Linked DNA regions of Homo sapiens: all the other regions are linked to region 4. Evidence: promoter capture Hi-C in 16 types of primary human blood cells and fetal thymus (Javierre and others, 2016). All regions are on one chromosome and are shown on one strand. Each heading gives the region's core, a stretch centred on a gene start or on the middle of the fragment in contact. The rest is flanking DNA. Distances are from core to core; before and after follow the strand shown. Region 1 has its middle 82 kb from the start of LINC02852. Region 2 has its middle 73 kb from the start of LETR1. Region 3 overlaps LETR1 (lymphatic endothelial transcriptional regulator lncRNA 1). Region 4 holds the start of NR2F2-AS1 (NR2F2 antisense RNA 1).

Evidence for each region. The method cuts DNA at HindIII sites, captures the fragments that hold promoters and counts their contacts. A CHiCAGO score of 5 or more calls a contact.
Region 1: a contact is called between a fragment that was not itself captured here and the fragment with the promoter of NR2F2-AS1 in region 4, in 1 of 17 cell types (endothelial precursors). The highest score is 6.9, in endothelial precursors.
Region 2: a contact is called between a fragment that was not itself captured here and the fragment with the promoter of NR2F2-AS1 in region 4, in 1 of 17 cell types (endothelial precursors). The highest score is 6.0, in endothelial precursors.
Region 3: a fragment that was not itself captured here is called in contact with the fragment with the promoter of NR2F2-AS1 in region 4 in 1 of 17 cell types (endothelial precursors); the score reaches 9.3 in endothelial precursors.

The regions. Positions count from the first base shown.
Region 1 is chr15:94,667,978-94,674,962 of GRCh38, forward strand. No RefSeq gene overlaps it. Among named protein-coding and RNA genes, the nearest start is that of LINC02852, 82 kb to the left of the region's middle. The HindIII fragment of the contact is 1,396 bases long and covers 2,020-3,415 here.
Region 2 is chr15:95,251,126-95,258,058 of GRCh38, forward strand. No RefSeq gene overlaps it. Among named protein-coding and RNA genes, the nearest start is that of LETR1, 73 kb to the right of the region's middle. The HindIII fragment of the contact is 5,211 bases long and covers 1-4,214 here.
Region 3 is chr15:95,297,934-95,305,073 of GRCh38, forward strand. The region is part of intron 1 of LETR1 (lymphatic endothelial transcriptional regulator lncRNA 1); the gene reads right to left. Among named protein-coding and RNA genes, the nearest start is that of LETR1, 26 kb to the right of the region's middle. The HindIII fragment of the contact is 2,103 bases long and covers 3,581-5,683 here.
Region 4 is chr15:96,325,126-96,331,933 of GRCh38, forward strand. It overlaps NR2F2-AS1 (NR2F2 antisense RNA 1), which reads right to left and starts at 1,993. Exons shown (of 5, transcript NR_125738.1): 1 at 1,831-1,993. NR2F2 (nuclear receptor subfamily 2 group F member 2) reads left to right here and starts at 5,575. Exons shown (of 3, transcript NM_021005.4): 1 at 5,575-6,808. RefSeq lists a silencer at 5,328-5,467. The HindIII fragment of the contact is 16,559 bases long and covers 1-2,768 here.

The DNA.
Region 1 (6,985 bases), core at 1,468-3,967, 1.7 Mb before region 4:
CCCAGCATCTTCCCCAGACCACAGGACCAAGTATCCCTGCTGCCTCACGACCATTACACCTAAAGACGCAGTATGTCTCTGCGAGTCTTCCCTGAAGCCTGGACCGCAATGAGTTGCCTTTCCTCCTAATCCTGGAGAGAAGAGAATTTCTGAATAGAAACCGGGGACCTTATTAACTTCAGAGAGAGAGAGAGAGAGAGACACTGAGTTTCAGGTCATGCCAGATTTATTACATAAGTGAGCAAGCCATAAAATGTAACGGTTTGCATTTGCTTTGTACTACTCAGTACCTGAGGGGGGAAAATTGATGTAAAACTTTTCATAACTCTTTATATTTTTGTCACACCACTAATTGATATCCTTTGCTCATGAAGATGGTTGGTACCTCATTTAATGTTATAGTTTTATGAAAGTGACAAGTGACAGCGTATGTGTTTGGAACCAAAAAGTTACCTTAGAAGGCATGGGGTCCCAGTTCCTTGTTTTATACATGAGTAAACTGAGGTAAAGGAGAAGTAGTTCTCTTGTGATCACAAAACGGCAGAGCTCTGTAAGAAGTTGACCCTTAGTGCAGTGCTCTTCTATTAATGCAATCAGGTGCCTGAGCAGGATTGGCCAAACCTGACCTTGGGGGCCCATTCTGGGTTGCCTGGACAACAAGCTAGCCAGAAACAGCAGCTCTTACTCTTAGCAGGAAAGGGCTCTTCCTCACACAGGGGACTGCAATACCTTACTACCTGAGTTCTCCAGGTGTGCACAGCCAGCATTCCCTGACAACTGCAAAGTGCAGGCCCCTAAGAGCCTGATGCCTGAGGATGACCAGCCCACCCCATCCTCCTCAAGGCTCTTCTTACCCTTGCCCTGTCAAAAGAGACCTACATGGGCTGAGCACCAGGTGGCTCACACCCGTAATCCCAACACTTTGGGAGGCCAAGGCGGGCGGATCACTTGAAGTCAGGAGTTCGAGACCAGCCTGGGCAACGTGATGAAACACTGTCTCTACTAAAAAACAACAACAACAACAATTAGCTGGGCATGGTGGTGGGCACCTGTAATCCCAGCTATGCGGGAAGCTGAGGCAGGAGAATCACTTGAACCCAGGAGGCGGAGGTTGCAGTAAGCTGAGATGGCACCATTGCATTCCAGCCTGGGTGACAGAGCAAGACTCAGTCTTAAAAAAAAAAAAAAAAAAAAGAAAGAAAGAAAGAAAGGAGACCTACATGAGGCAGGATGGAGGGCAGAGCTGTGGAGGATGGAATGGTCACTGGAACACAGAATCCCACTGCAAGTCCTACAGCTTCTCTAGGGGACACCTAGAAAACCGGGGGGGGCCTTGCTTTCTTTTTGCTACGCTTGGCCTGATGTAAGCTTTGCCCAGTTACATGTATTCTTAGCCCACTTTGTGTGATCTTTTGAAATGTGTTCCCAACCCTGACACCTGACAGGTGGAGATCCATCTGAGACCTACCTGGCAAGGCACACACTTAACCTCTGACCTTTAATTTTCTAATTGCAGACTAGAATTTTATCTGCTTCTAACTACTTAATAGGTTTCCAGAGAAAAATCGACGTGTGCTTTACTTATGGGCGAGGTCCTTGAAATTAAAGCATTTTATAATTCGGAGCATTCGGGTTTTGTGCCTTCATACAAGAAGCTCACTTGGCGAAAAAGTATCACCTCATTCTCTTGCTAATTCTGGGCTTATCGCACATTCAGTGTTCCATAAAGCTTGACTTGAAAGCTTTCATTTCAAACCCAATTCATATGAATTAGTGTACTACTCAAAATGTCAGGCTGCTAATAGGACATACATAGCAACTGGAAATTGAAATAAGTGCATTTTAATAGAGCTCAGAATTAGGATTTCCTCTATCTGTTTGACGTAGTATCACAATTATAATTGAACATAATTTTTTTTTCTGTTGGCATTTAATGATCCTCTATCTAGAATTATCAATCATCCCGAATTCATTATACCATTTTTCAGCGGTAAAATGGAAAAAAAGAAAGAAATTCAAAGCTTTTTAATTATGGTATGAACATGGAAAATCATGTCACCTAATACAGATTAAGGGAGAAAATGGATGGATCTAAGATTACTCAATTGATCATTCTATCGAGTAACCAGTGAGATCCCATGTAATTATGGCATTACATAATAGTTATTTTCATTATGTTTAATTTTATATGAGAAAAGTTTTATGTTACCTTTTAATCTCTAAAATATAGTCTAGTTAATTATTGACAATTATTACTTTTTGAGCTTTTGATAAAAGTGAATTTCTTCTCCAACCCAAATGCAATATTTATGAATGCTTGGCTGCCCTTAATATCAGTTTTTCAAAAAGTTGTGGACATTTTAAAGTAATTACTGCTCTTCACTTTAGCTTTAGTTGAACACCTGGGTCTGACTTGAGGGCTCCAAACATAAAATAAAATAGTACAAAAGTCAGAACTGCTGTCAAAAAACAATTAGAAAGCATTGTATTCTGGGCCATGAGGAAGTTAGATTATTCAGTTTCTAATTCCTGTCAGGCACAGATTCTAATATGAATGTGGACATTTCCTTATTATCGTAGATTTCCTAGACATAACCCTATTGTCAGTGATAGAATTCTTCCAGGCTGTTCCTATTTCTGTTTATAACCAGAAGAGGGCAGTCAGGTTCCATGATTCAGAGATAATTGCCACTGCCTCAGAAAGTAAGATTTCCAATAAATCTCAATGATTGGAATTACGTTTTCCTTTAATAGTATTAAAGGGCGTTTATAATTACCTGAAGAGTTTTCTGCTTTTATTAAAAACCTTACAACCTTGGTGAGATGGACACTTTCTTCAAAAGAGATGAAATGAAGGTATATATTTATTTGGATTATTTCTCCCTTGAACATGTTATTTCTGTTCCTATCAGCCTTCTTCAACATTTAGCTGGCACATGAGGGAGGGAGAAAATCTTATCATGTAGATAGTCCTCCTAATTTATAACTTTGTGGCATTTTATAAGTAAAAAGATATCTATTGTACAAGGCAAAGAACATTCATCAGCACTTCAGTTTCAAATCAAGAAGAGAGAGAGAATTAGAAAAAAAAAAGATTCACAGCAATTGAAAAACAGATATCTGCCAGAGGAACTTAAAATTCCAAAACACTTCTAGCAACACTTACTTACCATGAGAAAAAAATAATTACACTTCTAAAATAAAACTTTGAGTAAAACAATGTTAGAAGAATGTGATGTATTTTTTTCCTCCTGAGATCTCTTCTATAAGCAGTTGAAAGAAAATAAACATAAAGCTGAACACAAAATACAACAAACATTTCTGCTACCTTTTTCTCTTCTTTATTAGTAATAAAACCAGAGACTAGAAACCCCCTAATTTACTGAAAATAGAAAAACAGATATATCGGAATGAAAGCTTGAGTATTCAAAAAATAAATTATTTTTAAAGGGCCAGCCTTAATTTTAACATATAAGAAAAAGTTAATTTCAGGACGTAATTTCAATAAAACGATAGCCACAAGAGTTAACCATAATTCAGGCTACTTATTCTTGTTTGTATTTGAAATGTTCCCTCTGTGTTAATAGTGCTTCTAATGCTATTTCTAGGTGATTGTGCAGGGAATCAGTACTGTCTGATGCGGACAAATATGTGTATACTTGTGTTTATATGTAAACTATATATATATACGTATGTGTCATATGGCTGTGTACATTTCTATCAGCTACCTGCCTACAAAATAGCTCTCTCATGGTTATGGAATTCACCAGCCCCGCATGCACTCCTCTTGAGGCCTGTGGATTAACCAGGAATCCAGGTGATTTTCTATTTGATCCATGCCTCCAGCCCCTGGCCCACCGTTCCTGTAGATGCTGCCTCCAGAAAGAGCTGCCTCTGAAAGTGACCTTGCTCAGCAAATGCCTATTGGCTTACACAGAAGTAGCAATGCCTTTCCCAGAAGAGGCGCTGCAACTGGTGCTGCTGTAAAGATGGGTATGGGATCTGGGGTGGGAGGGAAGAGAGAGGAGGGAAGCAGCTTGCCAAGTCGCTTGGGCTACTTATAAACAAACTCAGCCATTGTTTCCCAAACCCTTTACAGTGGAGAGGGGAGCTGGACACACACTGTGTCCTGGACTCTATTTATGTTCTGTGCTTGGGGAGAGCTGCTTTTAAGAGACTGATTCGGTTTGGAAGATGATTTCCATCAGCTACTTTTAAAAGATACGTGCTATTTCAGCACAAAGCTGAAGCCCCTGTTAGAGCTGCACTAGGGATTAGGAAACGGCGTGTATTTTAATGCCTTATGAATAGGAGTAGCTGATAAAAGAGGCTCTTGTTACCACTGCTACATTTAAATGTGAAAAGCAGCTGCTTCTAGGGAGGAGGGGGTAGGGGAGAGGAGAAGAGATATATTATTTTCATAGGGATTTAATTTTCAGACTACACTGAAACCATAGAATACCAATGGCCATTCTCTTATCGGCAGCTCTCTAATCGTACTGAGATCTGTAAGATTGTGGAGAGGGAAGGAGAGGGACTGGGAGGCAGAGAAAGGGATTGTGTGTAGCGATGAGGCTGGCCGTTTTCATCTGCGTGTATGTTTTGAACCTCAGATCAAAACGCACGCGTGGTGTTTTCTTCTTCTCTTAGGAGCATTAACCCTTTAAACTTTCAAAATGCCAGCCAGTTAAAGAGTTTGATGCAACTATGCTGTCTTCAGAGCATGCAATTTTTCGATGGGCCCTGAGAATAAGATGACCACTGAGACCTCATTACAGAATATGGACCAGGTGTACGCGCCTGTGGCCAGGTCGGGGCAGGGGGCATGAAAGAGGGTCTCTTCCAACATTTCAGAGACAAGGATTTCAGGTAGAATCCAGGACGTATTATGAATCCAACAGAGAAAGGCTCTTTCTGCAAATCTTATGACCACCGGAAGCTGATGATATAAATAAGACCTAGGATTATTAAACAAACTAGCAGGTATTTGCCAAATACTATCAGTATTTGAAGAAATACGACTAAAGAATATAGATATTTTGAATGAATGAATCAATCTGGGCACCATTATTTTTCTCTCCATATTATCACTTAATAGCCTGGTTTTGTTTATTCTCATGTTGGACTTATTGAAACTGATCGCTAGTGAATTTTCTGTGTGTTTGACCCCTGACCTGCCCATGAGGTTTCTAAAGTACTTCTTAAAAAACCTAGGGTTTTGCTCCAAGACATTGTGAAGACATCTTTCTGATAAGAATTAGTTGCCTTTGGCCGGGCGCAGTGGCTTACATCTGTAATTCTAGCACTTTGGGAGGCCAAGGCGGGCGGATCAAAAAAAATTAGCCAGGTGTGGTGGCGGGTGCCTGTAGTCCCAGCTACTCGGGAGTCTGAGGCAGGAACGTCACTTGAACCCAGGAGGCGGAACTTGCAGTGAGCCGAGATCGCACCACTGCACTCCAGCCTGGACGACAGCGAGAGACTCCATCTCAAAAAAAAAAAAAAAAAAAGAATTAGTTGCCTTCCCCATAACTACTCTTACTCTTTCTAATTTTTTGTAGTATTGCCATTATCCAATGGTTTAACTCCAGAAGTTAAAGGATTAAAAACAAGTCTGGGAGTGATAAATCGGTAGTTCTCACCTAAGTTATAATTAAGGGTAATTCACATGTAGAAGATGGTTTGACAGCTCTAGCCCACGTGCTTAGACACTTGAATCCCAATGAATCATTTGAAGCCAAAGTATAACCCCGGCTGTCTTTGCACATGATGTGCAGGTGGATAGACTTTGAGACCGTCCTCTATCAACCAAGAGCAAAAAGAGAAAAGAGGAAAAAGGGCAAATATCCAGCTTCCCTGCCACACATCAGAAAGCCAGAAACAGGCGGCAAGATGCTTCCTGCTCCCAAGCACAACCAGGCTGGCCGCCCACAGCCACCCTGCACTGCTCTCGCACCTGCCCAACCTGTGCTTGTAATCGGACAGGGGGCATCCCTGGCCTGGGTGGTCCTGCTGGCTAGGCTCTGAGTGGTCAAGTTCCTGGCAGCCTGGGTTACTGGAGAAAGCCACTTTGGGATATTAATCACAGCAAACGAATGCGCTCTCCTGGCTCATGCATGGGGCACATGCCTAATCACGGGCTGAATAATGTTAAAAGAATGTAATTTGCTTCCCCTAAAATCTCTTCTAGAACAGCTACCGCAATCGGGTTCAATCAATATTTTGATTTCCTGACCCAATTTCTCTGCACATGAAAAGTAAAAGCCAGCAATCCAGCTTCACCAGGTACCATTGCAAAGCGAGTAAAAGAGACAAGCAGGGAGAAAGAGCTGGAGCCAGCACCAACAAGGCCGGGCAAGTCGAAGGAAGTGGCTCAGCACCCAATTGTGAGCTCTGAGAAAGCTGTTGCTGAAGGCTGGTCTGATGCCTCCGGCACTGATGCCCATCCCTGTTCTCTGCTGCAGTCGCCACTGCTGCTCCAGCCAACATCTCCGCTTGCTTCTGAGCTCTCTTGCTTGCGTTCTTCCGTTTTGCCCCTCCTCTTCCCCCTCTCCTTCTTCTTTGACTTTTTTTTTTTTTTTAACTTGGCTACGGAACATTAAGTTTGACGAAGCGAAAGCAATTCAACATCTTTTAACTGAAGGAGGTTGATTTTCATTTGCTACCAAATGGCTCATTTTTACCTTTTTAGCTCCTGGAAGAGTAAAAAGTGAGAGGTCAGCCCTGCATCACCATGGCAACCCGGGCAGCTCGGGCCTGGAGCAGATGAAGGGAGGTGATAATGGCAGGGAAGATTGTCCCCTTACTTGGCATTTTTCTCCCCATTCAGGGATGTGCCTGGATGTATAAAAACAATCATGTCGTTTTAGGACTCTAAGTTTTAAAATTTGGCTGCTGCATTGTCTGGTCCAGGGCTGGGACCTGGTGTGGATCTGTGTGGGTTTCGGATGGTGTTTGAGCCCATCCTTGCCTTCATCAATGCCCACAG
Region 2 (6,933 bases), core at 359-2,858, 1.1 Mb before region 4:
TTCTTTCTTTCTTTCTTTCTTTTTTTTTTTTTTTTTTGAGATGGAGCGTCACTCTTTTGCCAAGGCTGGAGTGCAGAGGCATGATCTCGGCTCACTGCAACCTCCGCCTCCTGGGTTCAAGCAATTCTCCTGCCTCAGCCTCCCGAGTAGCTGGGATCACATGCACCTGCCACCATGCCCGGATAATTTTTGTATAGAGACAGGGTTTCACCATGTTGGCCAGGCTGGTCTCGAACTCCTGACCTCAGGTGATCCACCCGCCTCGGCCTCCCAAAGTGCTGGGATTACAGGCGTGAGTGCCAGGCACTTTCACAGGCACTGGGGTAGGACAGTAAACAAAAACAAGTAAAATCCCTGAACTCTTCTAGCAGACATCTTCTAGTAGAGAAAGATGGACTATGAAGCACATTTAGCCAATAACAGAGCATGTGGATTGCCAAGAGTACTATGAGAACAGCAAAGATGTGAAAGAACAGTGATGCTTGGACAAGGTGGCCAGCAAAGGTCTCTGTGCAAAGGCAACATTGGGTTGAGTAAAATAATGAGGGAGTGAGATGATGGAATGGCAGCAGCCTGAGAGCCACCTTATATCATCCACAATTTGGGGGTGCAGAATTCATCCAGAGTGGGGGCCATCCATTGATATTTTTAAAAATCCTGTGTAGGGTATTCTAATGTTTATTTAGGAAAAACATGCTTTCAAAGATAAAGGCTTTGGCTTCAACTCTCAGTCACGGCCATTGGGTGAAGACGTTGCATGAACTTATGCATTATATCTCCCTCTGATTGACAAGTAAAGAAGACGAAATATGGCAAGAGTGGAAACAGGGAGACTAAATAGGAGGCTACTGCATGTGGCATGAGGAGAGGTAGGAGGGTTTTATTGGATATGGTAACAAATGGTCAGTTGAGCTAAATGTTAAAGATGGGGCCCACAGGATATCATTCTTACATATAATGTTCCTAGACCCTAGAACACTAGGTCCACTTCTATTCATTTATTCAATCAGATTTCATCAGGGCTGTTCCTTGTACTCCCCAACATGGGAGTTTGTTGTATGCCTGGCCCTTGCAGCCATCTGAGTTTCCCACGCTCTCTAGGTGCCGTGACGGCTCCATAGTGAAGTGCTTCTTTCTCTGTGTTATGACAACACCTTCACGCCTTGATACACCAGGAACCATATTCTCATTTTATTGTTTTCATGTGTATCTCTCTAGATTATATGTTGTTCACCTTCATATCCTTGGAGTCTACCACAGAGCCCTGCAATTAGTAGGTGTTAGGTCATTGATGAATGCATGATGAAATGAATAAATGAAAGAATCAACAAATGAATGAATAAACAAATAAATGGATTCTTTGTACTAGAGTCTCATAGCAAAAACCAGAAAACAGAAAACAAATTCGTGCACAATGTGGAACAGTCATCTCTTTGTTAATTAAACATTTCCTAAGCCTCCTAAACTAACATAGCTGTATGTTCTCAGTAGATGACTAACATTTCCTCAATTGTAAATTGTGATAATACATGAGGTGGAATGTATTAAGAAGAAGACAGCAACATCTAGCTGCAAACTCTTCTGTCTTTTCCCAGTCTAGTGGCACAGTATTAGGGAGGTGCTGTAAAGAGAAAAAGGACCAAGCCCTATGGACTCATTGTCCTCTAGAAAGCAGGTAGTGCAAAGGAAAAACTGCACAGCAGGGAGGCTGGTTGTTGGTGTAGCTCATCTTTTTAAGCTGTGCACAGCAAGCAAGGGAAAGGACACTGAAGAACCAAGATGGTAGGTTAGATTTAGCATGTTTAAGGAAAGGAGAAGGAGAGGATATCTGAAGTTTCAGAGTGTTGAAGAGGTCAGGGATTAAGAGTTTACTGTAGCCTCTGAACTTGGAAACTCTTGAATGCCTGAGGAAGATATAAAAGATGGGATTTCCTCTTTAGTGGTGCTTTGTTAAATATCACATACTCTGCCATTCAGCTATGGAACCCTGCTTTTAAAGATTTCACATAAAATACTAACACATAGATTATAAATTAAAAAATGCATTCAGCTTAGCTTGGAGCCTGGCACACAGTTAGCATCCAGCAAAAGTGAGTTCTTTCTGCTGTGGTACTTGAAGAGATAAGAAGCCCTTTCTTGTATAAAGTAAACAATTTGGGTGATGTTTATACTAAAATACCAGACTTCACCAATACCCACCACTACATCCACATAACAAAACTGTACTTGTAATTCTTACATCTACAAAAATAGAAAAACTTTTTCTGTTATTATTATTGTTAAGAACAACAATAATAATAATACCGCTGCAAATTATGAAGGTTTTTCTTAGGCTAACCTCAGTCTTTTTTTTCTTTTTCTCCTAGAGACAGGGTCTTGCTCTGTTGCCCAGGCTAGAATGCAGTGGCACGATCATAGCTCACAGCAGTTCAATCTCCTGTGCTCAAACAATCCTCCTGCCTCAGCCTCCCGAGCAGCTGGGACTATAGGCACACACCACTGCACCTAGATAATTTCCCTTTTCTAATAATTGTACTGATCTATGTTGACAGACTGTAAAAATTTCTATATATGTTAGCACTCATTTTAACACTCATTTAGTCTTAGAGTTAAAAGAGTTAACACTCTTTTATTTTAAGACAGAGTTTCGCTTTTATCGCCCAGGCTGGAGTGCAATGGTGAGATCTCAGGTCACTGCAATCTCCACCTCCCAGGTTCAAGGGGTTCTCCTGCCTCAGCCTCCTGAGTAGCTGGGATTATAGGTATACGCCACCACGCCCAACTAACTTTTGTGTTTTCAGTAGAGACAGGGTTTCACCATGTTGGCCAGGCTGGTCTGGAACACCTGATCCACCGGCCTTGGCCTCCCAAAGTGCTGGGATTACATAACATTCATTTAGTCTTAGGTATTTCATGCCCACCGCCAGTTCCTGTGTCAATGTCTCTTTAGTTGTGTTGGGAGCCTTGATCTCTAGTAGACATTTTAACAAAAGTTCCTAAGAACAATAAAAAAGCAGCCCTTCCTGATCATTATTTCATTTTTATTTCATCCTGACTACAGTTGGTGAAATATTAATAAGTAGGGTAGCTATCATTATGCCCATTTAACTGACAAGAAAGTAGGCTCAGACTGGCTGAATACTTGTCCAGGGTTACATGAGATTAAAGTGACAGTCAAAATTCTTTGGGTCTAAGTCCAGAGTTATGTAGCCACTGAGTTACAAGGCTTGCAGAAATGTTTTTGTAAATTAAACTTTCTATTTTAGGATAATTGTGGATTTATTTGCAGTTGTAAGAGAGAACGCAGAGTGATCTTTTACCCAGTTCCTTCCAATGCTAACATCTTGCAAAACTGTAGTGTAACAAACAGGATATTGACATTGCTACTGTCAAGATAAGAAATATTTCTATCGGCACAGGGATACTTCGTGCTGCCTTTTATGGCCACTCCCTCTTCCTTCTTATCCTTCCCCCTCCTTAACCCCTAATGAGTCTCCATTTCTATGATCTTGTTATTTCAATCATGTTGTTATATAAATAAAACAATATACTATGTAACATTTTAAAATTATTTTTGTCACTCTCCATAATTCTTTAGAGATTCATCCAGGTGGTTCCAGGCATCAGTAGTTTTTTTTCTATTAGCATGCATGTATCACGGTTGGTTTAATCATCTTCCCCTTGAAGGACATCTGGATTGACTTTTTGTTTTTCTTTTTTGTCTTCAGTTCTCAAAAGTTTGACTATGAGTGTCTTGCTATGAATTTCTGTGAGTTTATCCTATTTGGGATTCACTCAGTTTCTTAAATCTGTATATTTATGTCTTTGGCTAAATTTAAACACATTTCAGCCATTATTTCTTAGAATGTTTTTCAGGTCTGCCATCTTCCGGTCTTCTAGGACTCAGGGAATGCAAAGGTTAATTTTTTGTCTGTCTGTTTGTTGGTTTTTGGTTTTGTTTTATTTTGGTTTTTTTTGCTATAATCTCGAAGGTCTTTGAGGTTCCTTTCATCTTTTTTTCACTCTATCTTCTCTCTGTTGTATAGATGGTCAATTTATATTGTTTCCTCCAGTTCACCAATATTTCCTCTGTCTCCTCCATTCTGCCCATGCATTGAGTTTTTTATATTGGTTATTGTATTCTTCAGTTCAAAATTTTCCATTTGACTCTTTTATCTTCTATTTTTGGTTATGACTTCCTATTTCTTTGTTGAAGCTTTCCAAATAAATTTTCATTAGCTACAAGAATGTTTTAATTGTTCATTGGAGTATTTTTATGATGGCTGCTTTACAAGCTTTGCCAGATAATTCTAACATTTGTGTCATCTTGATGTTGGCATATATTTATTATCTTTTCTCACTTAGTTTTAGTTCTTTCTTGTTTTTGTATGATGAGTAATTTTCCACTGAAATATGGACATTTCAATATGATGAGACTCTGAATCTTATTTAAACCTTTTGTTTTAGCTACCTTCATCTCACACCATCCTCACAGACGAAGGTGGGTGTCGCTTCATTACTGCCAGGTAGGGTAAAAGTTCAGGTTTCTTAACTCAGCTTCTGTTGACCTCTGAAAGGGGGCTTCTCATTCCTGCTAAGCAGGAGTGGGAGTTTCAGTTCCCCACTAGGCCTCCAATAAAGCAGTTATCTCTTGGCATACATGGGAATTTGCATCCCATGAATATTGTATTTGGATCTGCCTTCAGTTCTGGACACAGAACTTGTGGAGACAGAGGGCTTGTGGTAAACAGAGATTTACATTCCTATGAAGGAAATTAATTTTCAAGTCAATAAAATAAACTGCACAGGTACATTCTCTGTACTTAGATAACTTTTGGCCTACTCTGCCTAATTAATTATGAAGATTTTAAATAAATCATTCATTTCTGAAGAAAGTGTTTTCTGACTGCCCTTAGCCAAGCAGATGTGTCTATTCTATATTCTCACATGCTCACATGCCACCCCTTTATGACCCTTAGCATATATGCAAATTTACTTATTTGTGTGGGTCCCTAAACTAATACCTCTTCCATTGCCTGCATCTTTCAGGACAGCAGGGGCTTTGGCTGTTTTTCTTTACTATTGTCTTCCAAGTACCTAGAAGAGTATCTGAACATGCTAGGAAGTTGCTACATTTTTGTTTAACAAAATCTGCACCTAGGTGGACCTGTGATGTTCAAACCTGTGTTGTTCGAGGGTCCACTATACTTCCCAACATGTGAGGGATGGAAGTGCCTTGCTGCTGCTCTCCACATGGCTTCCACTGATATCACAGGATTAGGGGGCAGGGGTAAAGTCCCTCCTTCCTACTCAGCCTCCTCTGACACCATCTAATTAGTTTTTGTGGAATTTGGCTAGAATAGAGTGGTTATTATCTAAATGTTTTTCTGTCTTGCTTGGTTGCCCCTTTCCTTGTCCTTTGGCTAGAGACAGAGTAGTCTTTCGCTGGGGCTTTTCTTGTCCTTTCCCATTATTATTTTGGGGTTCTTGGTTCCTTGAACTCTAGGTCTGAGATATATCAGGCAAAGCTAAAAGTCAGGAAACTCACCTTGGTGTTTTCCTTGTATCCTGAGATTCCCTTGTCAGGTAGCTTTCTTCTCTCCACATTCCTGCCTTCTAATGTTTGTTTCTATAAATTCTCAGAGTCTTATCTGTACATAGAAGGAATAATAGATAAAATTATGTGTACTTCATCCTTAGTATAACATTTTTAAAGAACATTTGTGAAAACAAAGATGTCAATCATAATAACATTTAATGAGAAGATAATCTGAGTATCTTATTGCTACCATTTATCTTAAGGGACAAATTCTTTTTCCACGTTGATATGGAGGCTTAAACTTATCGACATTTTCATTTGAAAAAATAATATGTAGATTATGCCAAATCTAAAAATTCACCTCCAGTCCCCAAAGAAGCAATTCCCTTGGCTCTTCTGTGTGTGTACTGAGGTCAATATGGCAGCAGGTACTTCATGAGGCCGCGTTGTTGAGGGAACCCAGAGGATAGACAGATTGGCCATTTTTCACATTTAATTTCCTTGTTCATACAACTGCACAACAGCACTGAGTTCAAACCTGCCAAGACGAATTTATACCTCACTAGCCCTATTCGTTAATTACAGAAATGGCATTTATTTTAAGCACCAAAATGTACCATCAACGAAAAGATGGACGCAGCATCTAACAGTGCTTCTGATGATCACTCAGACCATAAAATTCTATTTTTTTGTTACTGCCATTTTTTATTTTCCCAGCACTTTAATATTTCTTCCCAAAGCAGAATAGCACAAAGATTTTTTTTTTTTTTTTTTTTGACACAGGGTCTCACTCTGTCGCCCAGTCTGGAGTGCAATGTCGTGATCTTGGCTTACTAAAACCTCCGCCTGCCAGATACAAGGGATTCTCCCATCTCAGCCTTCTGAGGAGCTGAGACTACAGGTGTGTGCCACCATGCCTGGATTCTTGTATTTTTTGACAGAGATGGAATTTCATCATGTTGGCCAGGCTGGTCTCAAACTCCTGATCTCAAGTGATTCACCCGCCTCAGCCTCCCAAAGTGCTGGGATTACAGTCATGAGCCAAAAGTGCCCCGCAAGAATAGCAAAAAGATCTATTATGGATTTAATATAGAACATTTTTAAGCGTGGCAAAACAAGTAGATGATGGTTAAAAGGTGACATGACCAATAGGTTGGTATGTTATGATGGCATAAACCAATCATTTTACATGATTTTCCACACTAAATTTCCCGGATGTTGTGGCCATGAGCCAAGATATTTTATGTCATTAATCCACTAGCTAGAATTTAGTTGAGGAGCTAATTCAGAGAGCTTGGAATAAAAACTTTGAGTTGGGTTTTTGGTAACTGACATGTGCTATGTTTAAATGAAATATGCTTGTTGCACCACTGACCCAAACGAGCAAAGTGCTA
Region 3 (7,140 bases), core at 3,382-5,881, 1.0 Mb before region 4:
CTCATGCAACGAAGAATGATCTGGCCCAAAATGTCAATAGTGCCAAGGTTGAGAAACTCTGTGCTGGAAGAGATTGCCCCAAACTGGATTCTAAAAGAACTTGAGTTGGCGTCCCAGATCTGTGGATTCTGTGACCTTGAGTAAGTTACTTATCTCTCTGATCTCTTCTGAAGTGAAAAGTGATCAAACTGTCTGGGTGTGAGAAGAATATAAAAGGATATATGTAAAATATCTGGCCAGAAATAAGTTCAATCATTACTTTTCTCCCTTCTTTTCCCTAACAAAGTGTAGTAAAAGGCTCTGCCTCAAAGTGAGTTCTGAGAGAAAGGAGTTTTGAAGTACTCATATTTTTCACTGATTTGGTAATATCTCAAGATTTTATTACTTGCCTGTTTAAAAAAAAAAAAAAAAAAAAAATATATATATATATATATATATATATATATATATATATATATATGCGCCAGGTAGAGTTTGGTGAACTGAACTGAAGTTGTCTTTTTGGTTTGAGAGACTGCAGAAAGGATTTTAGTCTTCATTTAAAATTTTCTATAGTGGTTCCAATGGCATTGTTAATTTTGGGTGAGAAAAGCAGAAAAACTCTAGGTTTGGCAAGCAGACAGACCTGGATGCAAATTGTGTGTCTCTCCTTCTTGACTTTGTGACCTTGGGCACAAGGTATTCTTTCCAAGATTCAGATTTCCTCATTGGTAAAATGGGCATCATGACTTCTATATTTCAGATTTTTTGTTGAACAATAAATAATATAAATAAAGCAGTATCTAACACAAAGCCAAATGGTGTTGAGGATCTGCCTAAATCACAGTAGTTGACAGTAACAGTTCGCCTTGCTTTTGTTCTTGCCTCATTAAAGAGATGAGAGGTAGGCCAAAGGCAAGGAACCAAGGGCTGCCTACATGCAGGGAGCAAGCCCCATGGAACGGACCGGGGAAGACAGCTCACCTTTCAGGGAACAACCTGTTCATGGAAATCAACCCTACACATTTGTGCAAGATCTTCCAACTAGAAAAGTCTCCTAACATTCAGCCTGTGGTTTTTCAAAGAGAGGAAGTGGTCAGGTACCACATATTAACAGAAGGGCTCTGTGACAGACTGTATTTTCCAAAGATGGCTGCAACAAACTCCTATCCCAGACCACCCACTGAGAAACTCCGTAAATTAATTCAAGGTATTTTATTTTAATATAATTTTTGATATGCTCATTTGTTTCCATTTATAAATGTTATGCACACTCATTATAGAAAATTTGGAAAATGCCATAAAAAAGAGTTAAGATAAAAAAAATCAAGTTAGCAGTGATATTAAGATACCTTTTTGATGAATTTCTGCTTTCAAATGTGTTTAGCTACATAGTTTGGATACAAAATTATAAGTGACCACAATGCTAAGGCTGTGTCATCACATGCAAAACGAAGTGCAAATTAAAATAGTTATTGCAAAAATTTAGGCCCAGAACTTTCTTACCTACAGAGTCCCTGTAATTAAGGAAAGGTGTTTAGGATAATTGCCTCCATTTACCACTTTAGTTGTTTGAGGGAATGAGGTATCAGGAACTGGCTGGCATAAATTTTTCTTTTCTGATTATATAAAATGCTTAGTCCGACTATTTTTCTCAAAGTGGTTTTTTTGCTCAATGAAAAGCCGTTTTTAAAAAAATTAAATATACTTTGATTCAGTTGTCAAAAGAATCTTCATGTTTTCAATAACCAAATTACCAATCAATTCTATCAATTTAGTTTAAAATAATAATAATAAACCAACCCAGTCATTAATGAATTCAAAACAGATATTTCAAGGTATAAAATGTTCCTTGAAATTTTTCTTTTTCTTTCTTTCTTTTTTTTTTTTTTTTTTTTTTTTGAGATGAAGTCTCACTCTGCTGCCCAGGCTGAAGTGCAGTGGCGCTATCTGGCTCACTGCAACCTCCGCCTCCTGGGTTCAAATGATTCTCCTGCTTCAACCTCCAGAATAGCTGAGATTACAGGTGCATGCCACCATGCCTAGCTAATTTTTGTATTTTTAGTAGAGATGGGGTTTTGCCATGTTGGCCAGGCTGGTCTCAAACTCCTGACCTCAAGTGATCCACTGCCTCGGCCTCCCAAAGTGCTGGGATTACAGGTGTGAGCCACTGCGCCTGGCCAGAATTTTTCTAATAAGTGAAATTAAATATACTGTTCATATTATGCTGTTATTCCAAATTGAATTTACAGGTGGCAAATAGAGGTGAGCCAGTCTTGGTTATGCACTATATTTGCCCCCATAGTGCACGCATGTTAGTGAGTGTGGGGTGAGGAGATGGCTTGAAGACGAGGTAGACAAGAGAGGTTGTAAATATTTTCTAATTTTTTTCCAATAATTTAGAAGAGATTGCAAATATGTTCTTTTTCCAAGACTTAAGTCAGATACAAGCCTTCCCAATGACGTGTGAAAGGCAAATTTTGGGGGTGCTCCTAATTTTACATCCTATGTCTTATATTAAAAGATGTTGAATAAGTTCTTAGGTAGCACTTAGGATTAAGAGTCACACAGCACGCCTGTAACCCCAGCGCTTTGGGAGGCCGAGGAGGGCGGATCACGAGGTCAGGAGATCGAGACCATCCTGGCTAACACGGTGAAACCCCCGTCTCTACTAAAAATACAAAAAAAAATTAGTTGGGCATGGTGGCTGGCACCTGTAGTCTCAGCTGCTGGGGAGGCTGAGGCAGGAGAATGGTGTGAACCCGGGAGGCAGAGCTTGCAGTGAGCTGAGATCACACCATTGCACTCCAGCCTGGGTGACAGAGGGAGACTCTGTCTCAAAAAAAAAGAAAAAAAAAAAGGAGTCACACGGAAAATTGACTTACTATGAAATCATCAGAGGAGTAGATAATAGGTAAACAAAAACTCCCTTTGGCTTCTAGTCCAATCTTGAAGGCAAATACAGATTAGAAAAAAGCAAAGCTGGAACCCTGAATGTCACAGCCACACAGGCTATAGGACATAGGACCCATAAGGAAAAATCAGGGATCCCGGGGACAGGCAGGAGGTGGATTGGATGTAGGAACTATAATCTGGTGAGGAAGGGAGAGAAAGACTTTTGCCAGGAAAGGATGGATCGTACTGCCAAGGAATGCAGAGTGAGGCATTTCCTAGCACTGCAGACTAGCAGGACTAAGGGTTTCCTACTGGTACACTGTCCACATTCCTAAGCCCACATTTCCATTGTCTGTTTACTTAGGGTATTTTTTGGCTGATTGTTTGCTCATGTATTTGTTTCTTACTTTCAAAATGACTAATTTGAGAGCAGACTGCCATTCTACGAGTCATATTATGCAAAAAATAAGTAGATCGAAGCACAGGGACCATCTACCTTGCAAAACAAAGTCTTTGGTTCATTCAGAGTTGGTTAATTTTCTCAGTGCTTTTCTCCCCCTGGTGATGTTGAACAATTTTCTTTCTACCTATCCTCACTTCCAATGTGCTTGTTTTTAAGATCATAATTTGTTGATGAGTGGTTGTTTGCCAAGACCGGTCTTAGGGTCTGTGAAACACTAAAGTGTATATAATAGGCAAATCCTCAAGCTTTGTTTCAAAGATGTATGCTACCTTGACATGTAGCATTTTGTATTTGACAAAAAGGCAAGAGATCTGCATAATCTAGACAAAAAATGAAATCTTGTAATTTGCAGCAACCTGGATGGAACTGGAGGCCATGATGTTAAGTGAAACAAGCCAAGCACAGAGAGGCAAATATCACATGATCTCATTCATATGTGGGAATGAAAAAAGTGCATCTCATGAAGACAGAGTAGAATGGTGGTTACCAGAGGCTTGGAAGGGTAAGGGGGATGGAAGGATGATGGGAAAAAAAACCGAACATAAATACTGAACTGTACACTGAAAAATGGTAGAGACGGTATACTGTATCTGTATATTTTATCTCAATAAAAAGTGTAAGATATTAAAAAATAATAGGCCACGCACGGTGACTCACGCCTGTAATCCCAGCACACTGGGAGGCCGAGGCGGGTGGATCAAGAGGTTGGGAGCTCAAGACCAGCCTGGCCAACATGGTGAAACCCTGTCTCTACTAAAACCGCAAAAATTAGCTGGGTGTGGCAGCGAGCACCTGTAATTCCAGCTACTTAGGAGGCTGAGGCAGGAGAATCGCTTGAACCCGGGAGGCAGAGGTTGCAGTGAGCGGAGATCGTGCCATACCACTTCAGCCCGGGTGACAAGAGCAAGACTCTGTCTCAAAAATAAATAAATAAATATATACATACATACATATAAAATAATAATAAGAAGTAAATGTGGCTGGTTTCAAGCATGAGTGTGGTAGACTAATTGGGATCTTTTTGCCAAGGTAAGTATCATGGTGGGTGTGGTATGTGAAAGGCTTGGTGCCCAGTTGAAAGTCCTGTTCTCACATCATCTGCCTCTCATTTACGCTTCCTGTTACGACAGTAACCAGGGGTGATCACAAAACAGTAGGAGATGTATTTCCTGGTTTTTGCCGACTAGTGAGCATCTAAGAGACACTTGTAACTTCTCTGTGCTTACTCACACTCTGGGATTTCTCTCTCTCCAGCTTGGATAGGTAGTTCCTCTTCTTTTAAAATCATTCAAAACTATTTTCCCAACTGGCCCTATGCTTAAATAAAGCCAGTAAATTTAACTACGGTTTTCACTCAGTAACTCAGAGTACATAATAACTAATTGATTATTTAGTTTTAACAAAAGTGGCAAATATTAAAAGATATGACTTTTTTATGTAGCAAAGATAAACTCTTCTCCAAATCCTGCCAAAAGTAATTCTGAAGTAATATAGAAAGGGAAGGGAGAGAAGGAAAAAGAATTTACCAAAGACAGACTTTATATATGAAAATCAGTAGATAAACATAATACTAACTTGAGAGTAGAAATAATAATAATAGTAATGATGATGGCAAATCACAAACGGATAGTACTAAATTTCCCTCCCTTTTCACCACCTTACAGGATATCCCGTCTAGCTGCAGAAACAAAACATGGAAATGAATCAGTCGATAAAGGATTTTCTCTCATTAAAGATGTTGGTGATTTTGTCCCGTGTAGGGGAAGTTGAACATTAAGGTGGATGTCCATAATCTAAGGGGACCACGGTCATTCACTCTCCTTGCTATGGGATGCAAACTGTTTTGCATGTGATAAGAATGCCAGGCTAAAAGTAAAAAAAAATTTTATCTCAGTATGATAAGAAATTACGCCATAGACTGACCTAAACATTGAATTTTTTGACGATTGCCCCCACTGATAGATTTTGTATTTCTTAGTAAATCTCAGGAAATTAATATCCATGACAGTCTCCATAGAAAATACAAAATAGAATCATACAAAAATTGTGTATAATTTTTCTTTATGGGGAAAGAGATGGAGCAAAGAGCAATAATTTTGAGGAGGTGGGACCACCAGAGAGAATAAAAGAAGTTCTTATATTTAAGAGAAATTCAGAGGTCATTCAGAAACTATTATCGTGATATTTCTCATTTCAAAGAGATGTAAGTTTCTCTTAAACAATTTATATTTTTAAAAAGTTATAACGGAAAATGAGTGAGAAGTGAAAAGTCCCTTTTATTCCCAAGGTTCATATGACCCAGAAATGAACTTGCCCTAAGAATCAGGTTTAAGACATTCACTTTCAAGCTTTAGAAGGCCTTGAGCTTCATTTTTCCTGGAAAGATAAACTTAATATTATACATGTTATCATCCTGTTGGGATCAAAATGGAGGATTTGCTGGGATGAAATATTAAAAGATGGAGGATGTGAAGAAAGATTTATGTAATGCTAATTTCAGGCAGCTTTCAAGGTTAATGCTTGTCCAAATTTTCATGGCCAATTCCTCTCGCCCAAGGACCACATGGGCAGCTCTGTACTGCTTGTCACTGTCATCAGCCACTTGTGTGACACGTTGGCTGCAATTCAACAGTAAAGCATGCATATTCTCTACTGAACATTTGGGGAGCCTGCAGGCAGCGAGTTGCGATGTAAATGGAAAAAAAGAAAGTCTGATCATAGCCCTCACCATCATAAGTTATCTAGGTGTCCTGCTCAGGCTTCCAATGTGGGCACTCACACAGGCCACCCAAACTGCTGACATCCTTCATTGACCTTTTCACAGCAATTGTGAGCCTAATGACTTTGTTTTCGCGTTTTGGAACTGAACTTTACAAGGATTGCTTCCAATCCTGGGTGGTGCTGAGAAAACTCAGCTTCACTAGAATTTGGCCGAGACCACCAGATGCGTTTCATGTGAGGGCCTTTTCCCATAATCTGACCAGAATGGTTTATGAATGTTCTGGGGAGCAGAAAGCCGGCCCCGGAGGCTGAGAAAGGGCTGTGCCCTGCTCAGCTAGGAGACCACACAGCCGTCCTCTTTCCCCTCTGAGTATTTATAGTTAAGAAACCACACCACCCCTCTCATTCGGAAGCTGAGGGTGAAAGTGGAAAAAACCAGAAACACAAATTGCATCCTACAGCTGAGAAAGTCTCACTCTTGGAAAAGCTAGAAAATAAATAAATAAAGGGGAAAATCCAAATGGGATCGCTCTTCAAACACACAAATGATCTTATGTTAACAGTTGGGATTAAACAGCTGTCTCGTGGTTATGCGATCATAACAGATGCTGTGTGCAAACGTTTCCTGCTAGCTTTGTTTTGGTTATTGCTGTTTGTGCAGTTCATTGGGCTGAATTCAGCTTAAGGGATACAGGTTTTTATTATCCTTCTGTGCTGCGCAGGCAGCTTCATCATCTCTTTAAGAGGAAAGGGGGCGTGTGAGAGGGATAGTTGGAAGGGAAATGGAGGGTGGGCTCTCCCATGTCACATTGGGAATGATGTCATATTGATGAAATTCCAACACACTGGTTTATGACCACTTTGCCATTAAAGTGGTCCCCAGCTCATTTATGAGTTTTTTGTTGTTGTTGTTTTAAAATTTTGTTTTAGTGGAGGCTGTGTTCAGTTCTAGTGCAGTTTATGCAGCTGGAATAGAATTTATAGAACATAGAGAAAACGTTTCCCTTCTTTCTTTCTTTTTTTTTTTTTTTGGATGACTAACAGATTACAACGTTGTAATGATCCCTATCTTGCCTCTTCCT
Region 4 (6,808 bases), core at 743-3,242:
CAGCCGAAGAGCGTTAGTTCCATTTGTCAAGTCTGACATACATCTTACCATAACAGTTTCCTAAAATAAAAGATCCGTGTTTCCCCATTATTCTTCTCTTAAAACAAAACAAAACAAAAATCCATTAGTTAAGACAGTATTAAACTGTGAGAGGCAGCATAGTTTATATTCAATTTTCACTAGTTACCGTATTCTTGCTTCCTTTATTCGTTTTGGGGAGTAGAGAAAGGGAGGGGGTGAATGAAGCATTCATTATCTGAAGGCATGGAATGGGGAACCCCTCCCCCCAAAAGAAATAGATTTCCTCCTCAGGAAAGTTCTAGAATAAGGACCGGAAAGGGGGGAGGCAGAAATCCACAGGGGAGAGGGGGAAAAATCACTTGGGGAGACTTGAGTTAAAAGTAGAAAATGAGGATTCCAAAGGATTCCTAGGAAAAATGTTGCCCTCTTGTCTCAAGTTCTATCTTTGATCCAGGACGAGGGAAGCCTGTCTGCCAGTCTGCGAGGCTGATGCTTTTTCCCCCTCCTCTTCCACCTCTGTTTTTTCCCAACTTGCTTTAGGATTAGCCTCCATCTCTCTCGACCCCAAACAGTGGAATTTGGCTGTGCCTTGGGTCGTCTTGCTTTGCAATATCGCCTATAGTTGTTGGCGGTTTTCTGCTGAGGCTGAGCCGTTTGCTCCAGCCTCCGACTAAACTCATTAAGTTGGGAGATTTTTTTCAATTGGACGGGTGTTTTTAAAGTCTCGTCTTTCCAGCCCCAAACAAGGTGTAACAACGCACTCTTCCTTCTAAGGAATGAGATGAGAGACAAGGATCACTCCAGACATCTCCTACCTACGGTTTGGGGTTTTTTTTCTTAAAGGCGAGGCTTGCATTCCTCAGCAGCTATGTACAAAGCTCCCTGAAACCTTGTCTCTCTAAAGTTAGTGTGCAGGGTTTTCCAAGGCTGAGAGAGCCTAATACATGGGGAAGCACTTCCTTGAGGTGGAAGATCTCTCCCTTCACCTTTCCTCTTTTTCCCTGCAGGCTAGTGCCTACTTTTTATCAGTTTGCACAATCGCTTAGATAAACACCGAGGAGGAGATTCTCTTTAATTATCAAAGACACATCTTTTCAGGGGGCCAACAAAGCATTTATTTCACCCGCCAAACTAAAGGAGAGTTATTCCAGTTTAGGAGGAAGATGCAAGCGGTTTGGGACCTTGAACAAGGCAAATATGGTTTTGGTATGTTTACTTACAGTATTTTTTCTCTCTCTCTTTCCTTTCTCACTTTTCTGCTTGTGCTGTGTGGGGTTGGGGATGACTTGGGGCTTTTCAAAATATCGGTTTGCTAACGTGTATGAAATGCCGAGGACTGTGGTTTAAGGGGTTCGGGGAAGGGGGGATCAGAGTCAATTCAATGCATTGCCATATTTTATTACATGTGTGTGGTAGGAGAGATGGTGGAGGGGGAGGGGGGAAAATACAATTGCAAAGCTGCCAAAATATGATTAAACCGAAGCGTTAAGACTGCGGAGCCTCCTATCTCCTCGTCCTGTCTCCTCAAACTCATTTCCTTCCACAGAGCAAACTAAAAACCAGTCCTATAAAGCGTGGTTTTGCAAGCAGCAGATGACTCGGTTTTCTAGCAAAGGAGCTGCTAGGCTCGCACTAAGTATCAGAATTTACTGTTCGCTTTGCCTCTGCGCTTCATTTTGCAACCTTGTGCAACTGACAGCCAGGCAGGCAGGGAGGGAGAAAAGCCTAGCCCGGCGCCCTCGGCCACGGTTCGGGTAGGCGAGCGCTCGGTTAAGCTAGGAGGAGAATCGCGACGAGAAGGGTACTCACCATCGGGCGGGGCGGTGGAGCTGGCGTGCGGATTTCAGGCAAACGTTTACCTTTTTGCTGTCTATTGCAACCGCGCCGGGCTGACTTAAGAAGCAATTCTGTGCTCTGTCCAGAACATTCAAGGAGCGGTTCCTCATTTTTAAAAAGCCAGCGAGAGAGACGACAGAGACAGAGAGAAAGAAAAAGAGAGGAGGGGGTGAGGGGGACGCACATAAACCCAGTTCAAAAAAAAAAAAAAATCACCTCTTCGCCAGTGACTCGGGAAACGCAGAGGTGGCGAGATCCGAGTACGGTCCAACCAAGCCAGAGCCAATTAATTTTAAATCCTGAAGAATTATTCAGATTAAAATGTACAGAAGTTTCGTTCTCCTATGCCTACGTGAGTCCAAAGTCGTTTCCCTTTAAGAGCTCCTTTTCTTTTAAAGTTGAATTTTAGGCAGCGAGGACTCTTACACTAGGGGGCAGACAGATACTGTACTTGCTCTAATCTTAAGCAATTTTTTCCCTCCCAGCATATGCTCTGATTTAGCACTGTAAATTTTTCAGAGGACCTAACTCTGACAGCCCCTGGTGATTTTCAAAGTACCACAAGCCAGTGGTTAAAAATTGCATTGACTTGGAAGTTCAGAGGGACACAATGGAAGCCCCTTTCCCTATTCATGGAGCTCCAGTGTGGTGGAAGAGAAAAACACACACGGACTAGATTGAGGGAAAGGAGGAATTCAATGAATCCTGGAGGACGGAACTGGTTTCTACTGAGTTCAGAGTTAAACTCGGCATTTGCTGGGGTCTGTATTCATATTGTGATTCAATCTGTAAAGAAATACAGCCCATCAGGCCACTTTCTGCAAGAAAATTATATTCCTGGGTGTTGAGTTTCTTTCTTTTCTTTTTTAGATTAGGGCAAATGTTGTCCCAACTTTCTCTAGGCAAATTAAAGCTTGCCATTCTTCTCATTATAATAAATTTACATCTGCAAAAAAAGACTGAGTTGGATTTTTAAAAAACAACAATAATATATTGATTTTATCTTCTCAGAGCTTTTTAACCTTAGACGCACAGCAAGTGAGCATCTCTGGAGAAGACATTTAAAAATATTTTTGCCCTTTTTTCTTCTCAGTCTGTAGTCTTGTCTCTTCTTCTATGCATTAAAATTAAGTATAATTCATACGGTGATTTTTTTTCTCCCTTGTAACAGCATTTCATAACTGAATGAGTCCTAAAATACAGAGTGAAACACCCCTGACTTTATGGCAGCCCTGTGATCATTTGCCTAGCAGGCTCCAATTTGTTAAGATATGGTTGGGAAATTATTCCATTTTAATCTAAGGCCATCACGCATACTTCAAATTCCAAAAATCTCTAAGTGGACTGGGGAAGCTCTTCCTCCTCGATATTGTTCCTTCCCATGTTTGTAAAAGGTAATCTGCTATGGAAGTCTCATTCAGGAGGTGAGATGAAGATTTCCCTATAATCAATTATTTTCATCCTCTATTGAGATGGGAATGCCCATTAGATTTCCTATCTCAACCCCAGTCTCATCACATCTCAGCTGAGCTTGTCCCGAATCTGCTGACATTTGTAACATTAGCAATTCCTGAATCATAGAGGTTGGAAGGGAAAACAACAACAACTACCAAAAACCTTCTCCTGTGTAATGATTTCTTTTCCATCCTTCTTATCCTCTTTAGGAGAAAGTTATATTGTGTCTCTAATTAACCTGAAATTCTCAGCTTGGCTTCATTCTGTGGCAATCTTATTACACACCAGGTTTATGATAGTTCAGTGTCCACTATAGGTTTGCTGGGCTTTTTTTTTTTTTTTTAACAACTTTCAAATAAACCGAGAACCTGCAGCTTTAGTGAAATACGTGATTTCATCGGAGAAAGAGTGAGGGCTGAGGTTTCGGGAATGAAGCTTAAAGAAGATTTTTCCTTTCCTAAAAACCAGCCCCTATCTGCCCAGATCTTTAGTCCTTACCTCATATTCTGCCTATGTGTGTAAAGAGAATTGAATGTAAAATGTGATCTATGCATGTCAATTATATGTATGGTTTATTTTTAAAATATCTTTACCCTGTCAATTTTTTTTTCAGCTACCAAGGATGTTTTCTGTGGTCATCAATTTACTCTTCATATGTGTTCATTTCTTTCCTGGAGCTCAGCGTCTTTTGTGTAAAATATTTTAATTGTTCACAAACCTGGTTGGTTTACCGGCATGAGGTTTTTTCTTGGTGCAAAGTGTGTACAAAGGAGACACAATTTTCTTGTATAAATGTGGAATAATGATAATTCACTAACTGGTCATAAACAACAAGTTTACTGCGTTGGAATATAGTGTGTTCTGAGAGCAATTCTACATGTTTGATGTTTAAAACCAGACACCCTGGAATTCAAAGACACAACTGTCTCAATTATTTTAGCACATGGAGCAGAATGGCAATAGGCTATGAAGTTGTTCTTTTTGCAGTGACTTCTTGAGGTAGAATATGGCTTGGGTTTGGTTCTTGTGACCTGTACTAGTATTATTTCCCATTTGGGGCAGAATCTCTGGGTGCGTTTTAATGACTATATGAATGCTTAAAAGGAACTTGAGGAACAATGAAGTCCGTACTCAACTGTTCTATGACCTAGAAGCATAGTCGGTGAAGTCTTTGTCTGTGTACATTGACAAATGTGCATCTGATACATGTGCGCTTACATGTGTGTACAGAGGGTGTGCACAGGGGAGGCTGGGCGGCTGCCTCCTCCTGTCCATCAGTGGGCAGAGGTCTTTCCCCTCTCACCATGACTGGGTGTGTGGCAGGATGTTGGCTGGAGAGTTAGCTAAAACCAGCGAGAGAGGGTAAAGTTGAGGAAAATTGATTCTAATTGCATCATGACAATCAGATGAAGTCTATTTCTGCTTCTCAGCATCCGAGATGCTTTATTTGGGCAATTAAAATGTCAGGCCACATACCTGTGAAATGTTAACCCTACAAGGAATAAACAGAAACAGAACGGCCTTTATCCTCTGAAAAGAATATATGTCATATATATATGTCACCAAACCGAACAAGTGATCAGAGTTAATTAAGAGAAGGGTTTGCCATCACCCGGATCTGGCCAACTCTTTCGTTTGGAAAATGCCTACAAGCTCAGTTCGTGGCACCTTCCCACCCTCACTCCCTATCCCTCTGCAAAGAAACCAGGGAACTTTTCTTTGGCATTGTGGGTACTAAGATGCGCCAGGAGTCCCGGGTGGTGCGCGAGCGGCGGAATTCGTGACATCGCCAAGTTGCGAGAGGCAAACTCCCCGATTCCATCCAAAGCCTCTCGCGGAGCCTTTAAGAGACGTTGTGTGTGCGCGCTGCGCTAGTCTCCCCGCCGGGGCGGAAACCTCGGGTGCGGGATGTGGGGAGAGCAGAGGCAGCGCTCGCAGGGCCAGCACGGGCCCATCCCCCTCTCGGCGGCGGCGGCGGCGGCGGCGCGGCCACCCCGTCCCCGCCCCCCCAACCCCCGGTCCCCCGCGTGCCCCGCGCCGCGCCGGCGACGCCGCTCGCGCTAGGACCGGGCTGCGCCCGCGGCCGCCATGGCGGGGCCGCCGCAGTCCGGCCAATGACGGCGAGGGGGCGGCGCGCGCGCGCCTGGCCAGGCCAACCCCGGCTGCTGCCTTATAAGGCGCGCCGTCGCCATGGCAACGTGCGCTAAGTTGCAGCAGTCGTGTCAAAGTTCACTATATAGAGAGCTCAGTGAGCTGATCGCGGAGAAGCCACTTCTGCCAGCCCCGGCGCCTATAAATCGCATTCCCTCCCGCGCCCCCCTTTTTAGCATATTTGATCACTTTGATTCTCTGTTCTTTTCTCTCCGCGGTGTGTGTGTGCGTGCGCGCGTGTGTGTTTTCTTCTTCTCCTCCTCCTCTCCCCGAGTTGCCTCCTTTCTCCGGGTGCCGTACTGCCTTTTTTCCCCTCTTTCATTCTTTCTCTCCGTCTTTTTCTCCCCCCTCTGCGCACGAAGGATGTGCTTCTAGGTGGTGATCTGCCCTCCTCTCTCTCTTTTATCATTTCTCCCCCGCCGCCGGCGAGTTGACTCTTTCCCTATGTGTGTGAGGCGGCGGCGGCAGCAGCAGCAGCAGCGGCTCCGGCGGCGGCAGCAGCGGCAGCAGCGACTTCAGCGGCGGCGGCGGCGCTAGACGCAGCGGCTCCGGGCCCGACCCGGCGGCTTCGGCGGCGGCTCCGGCGGCAGCGGCGGCCCGGGCGGCCCGCAGGGAACGGCGAGCGGCCTCCACCCAGCGACTGCGGGCGGCGGCGGCCGGAGAGAGCGAGGCGCGCGCCGGACGCCCGGGGCAGGCGGCGGCGGCGGCGGCCCAGCGCCAGGACGACGCCGCGCAGCGCCCGACGCGGACCACTTTCATGCTGATTCCCCCGGACCCGGGCAGCGCTCCGGCCACTCCGCGGGCCGCCGGCCTCCGCCCCGGCCTGCCTGGCTCCCTGGGCGCGCCCGCACCCGGCGCCTCCGATCTCCTAGTCCTCCTGATTTCGATGGCTTTCCTGAATGGCTGACTGTGGGCTGCCCTGGACTTGGCCCCCGGACAGTCGCCTCTCCTCCTCCTCTACCTCCTCCTTCACCACCACCTCCTCTTCCTCCTCCTCCTCCTCCTCCTCCTCCGCCAACTCCTCGGCTGCACACCAGCTCTAAGAGCGAGAGTGAACGAGAGAGGGAGGGAGAGAGTGAGAGCGAGCGAGATCTTTGGAGAGATTTTTTTTTTTGCCTCCTACTTCTGTCTTGAAGCCAGACAATCGACTTCAGCTCTCCCTCCCCTCCCTCTTTCTCCACGTTCTGCTCCCACTCGCTCTCCTGTCCCCTTCCCCTCCCCTCCCGGCGGAAAGCCCCCCGAAACCAACAAAGCTGAGCCGAGAGAAACAAACAAAACAAACACACCGGGCCAGACAAGCCATCGACAAAACTTTGCAAAAGCAAAAACAAAAAAGGAAAAACTA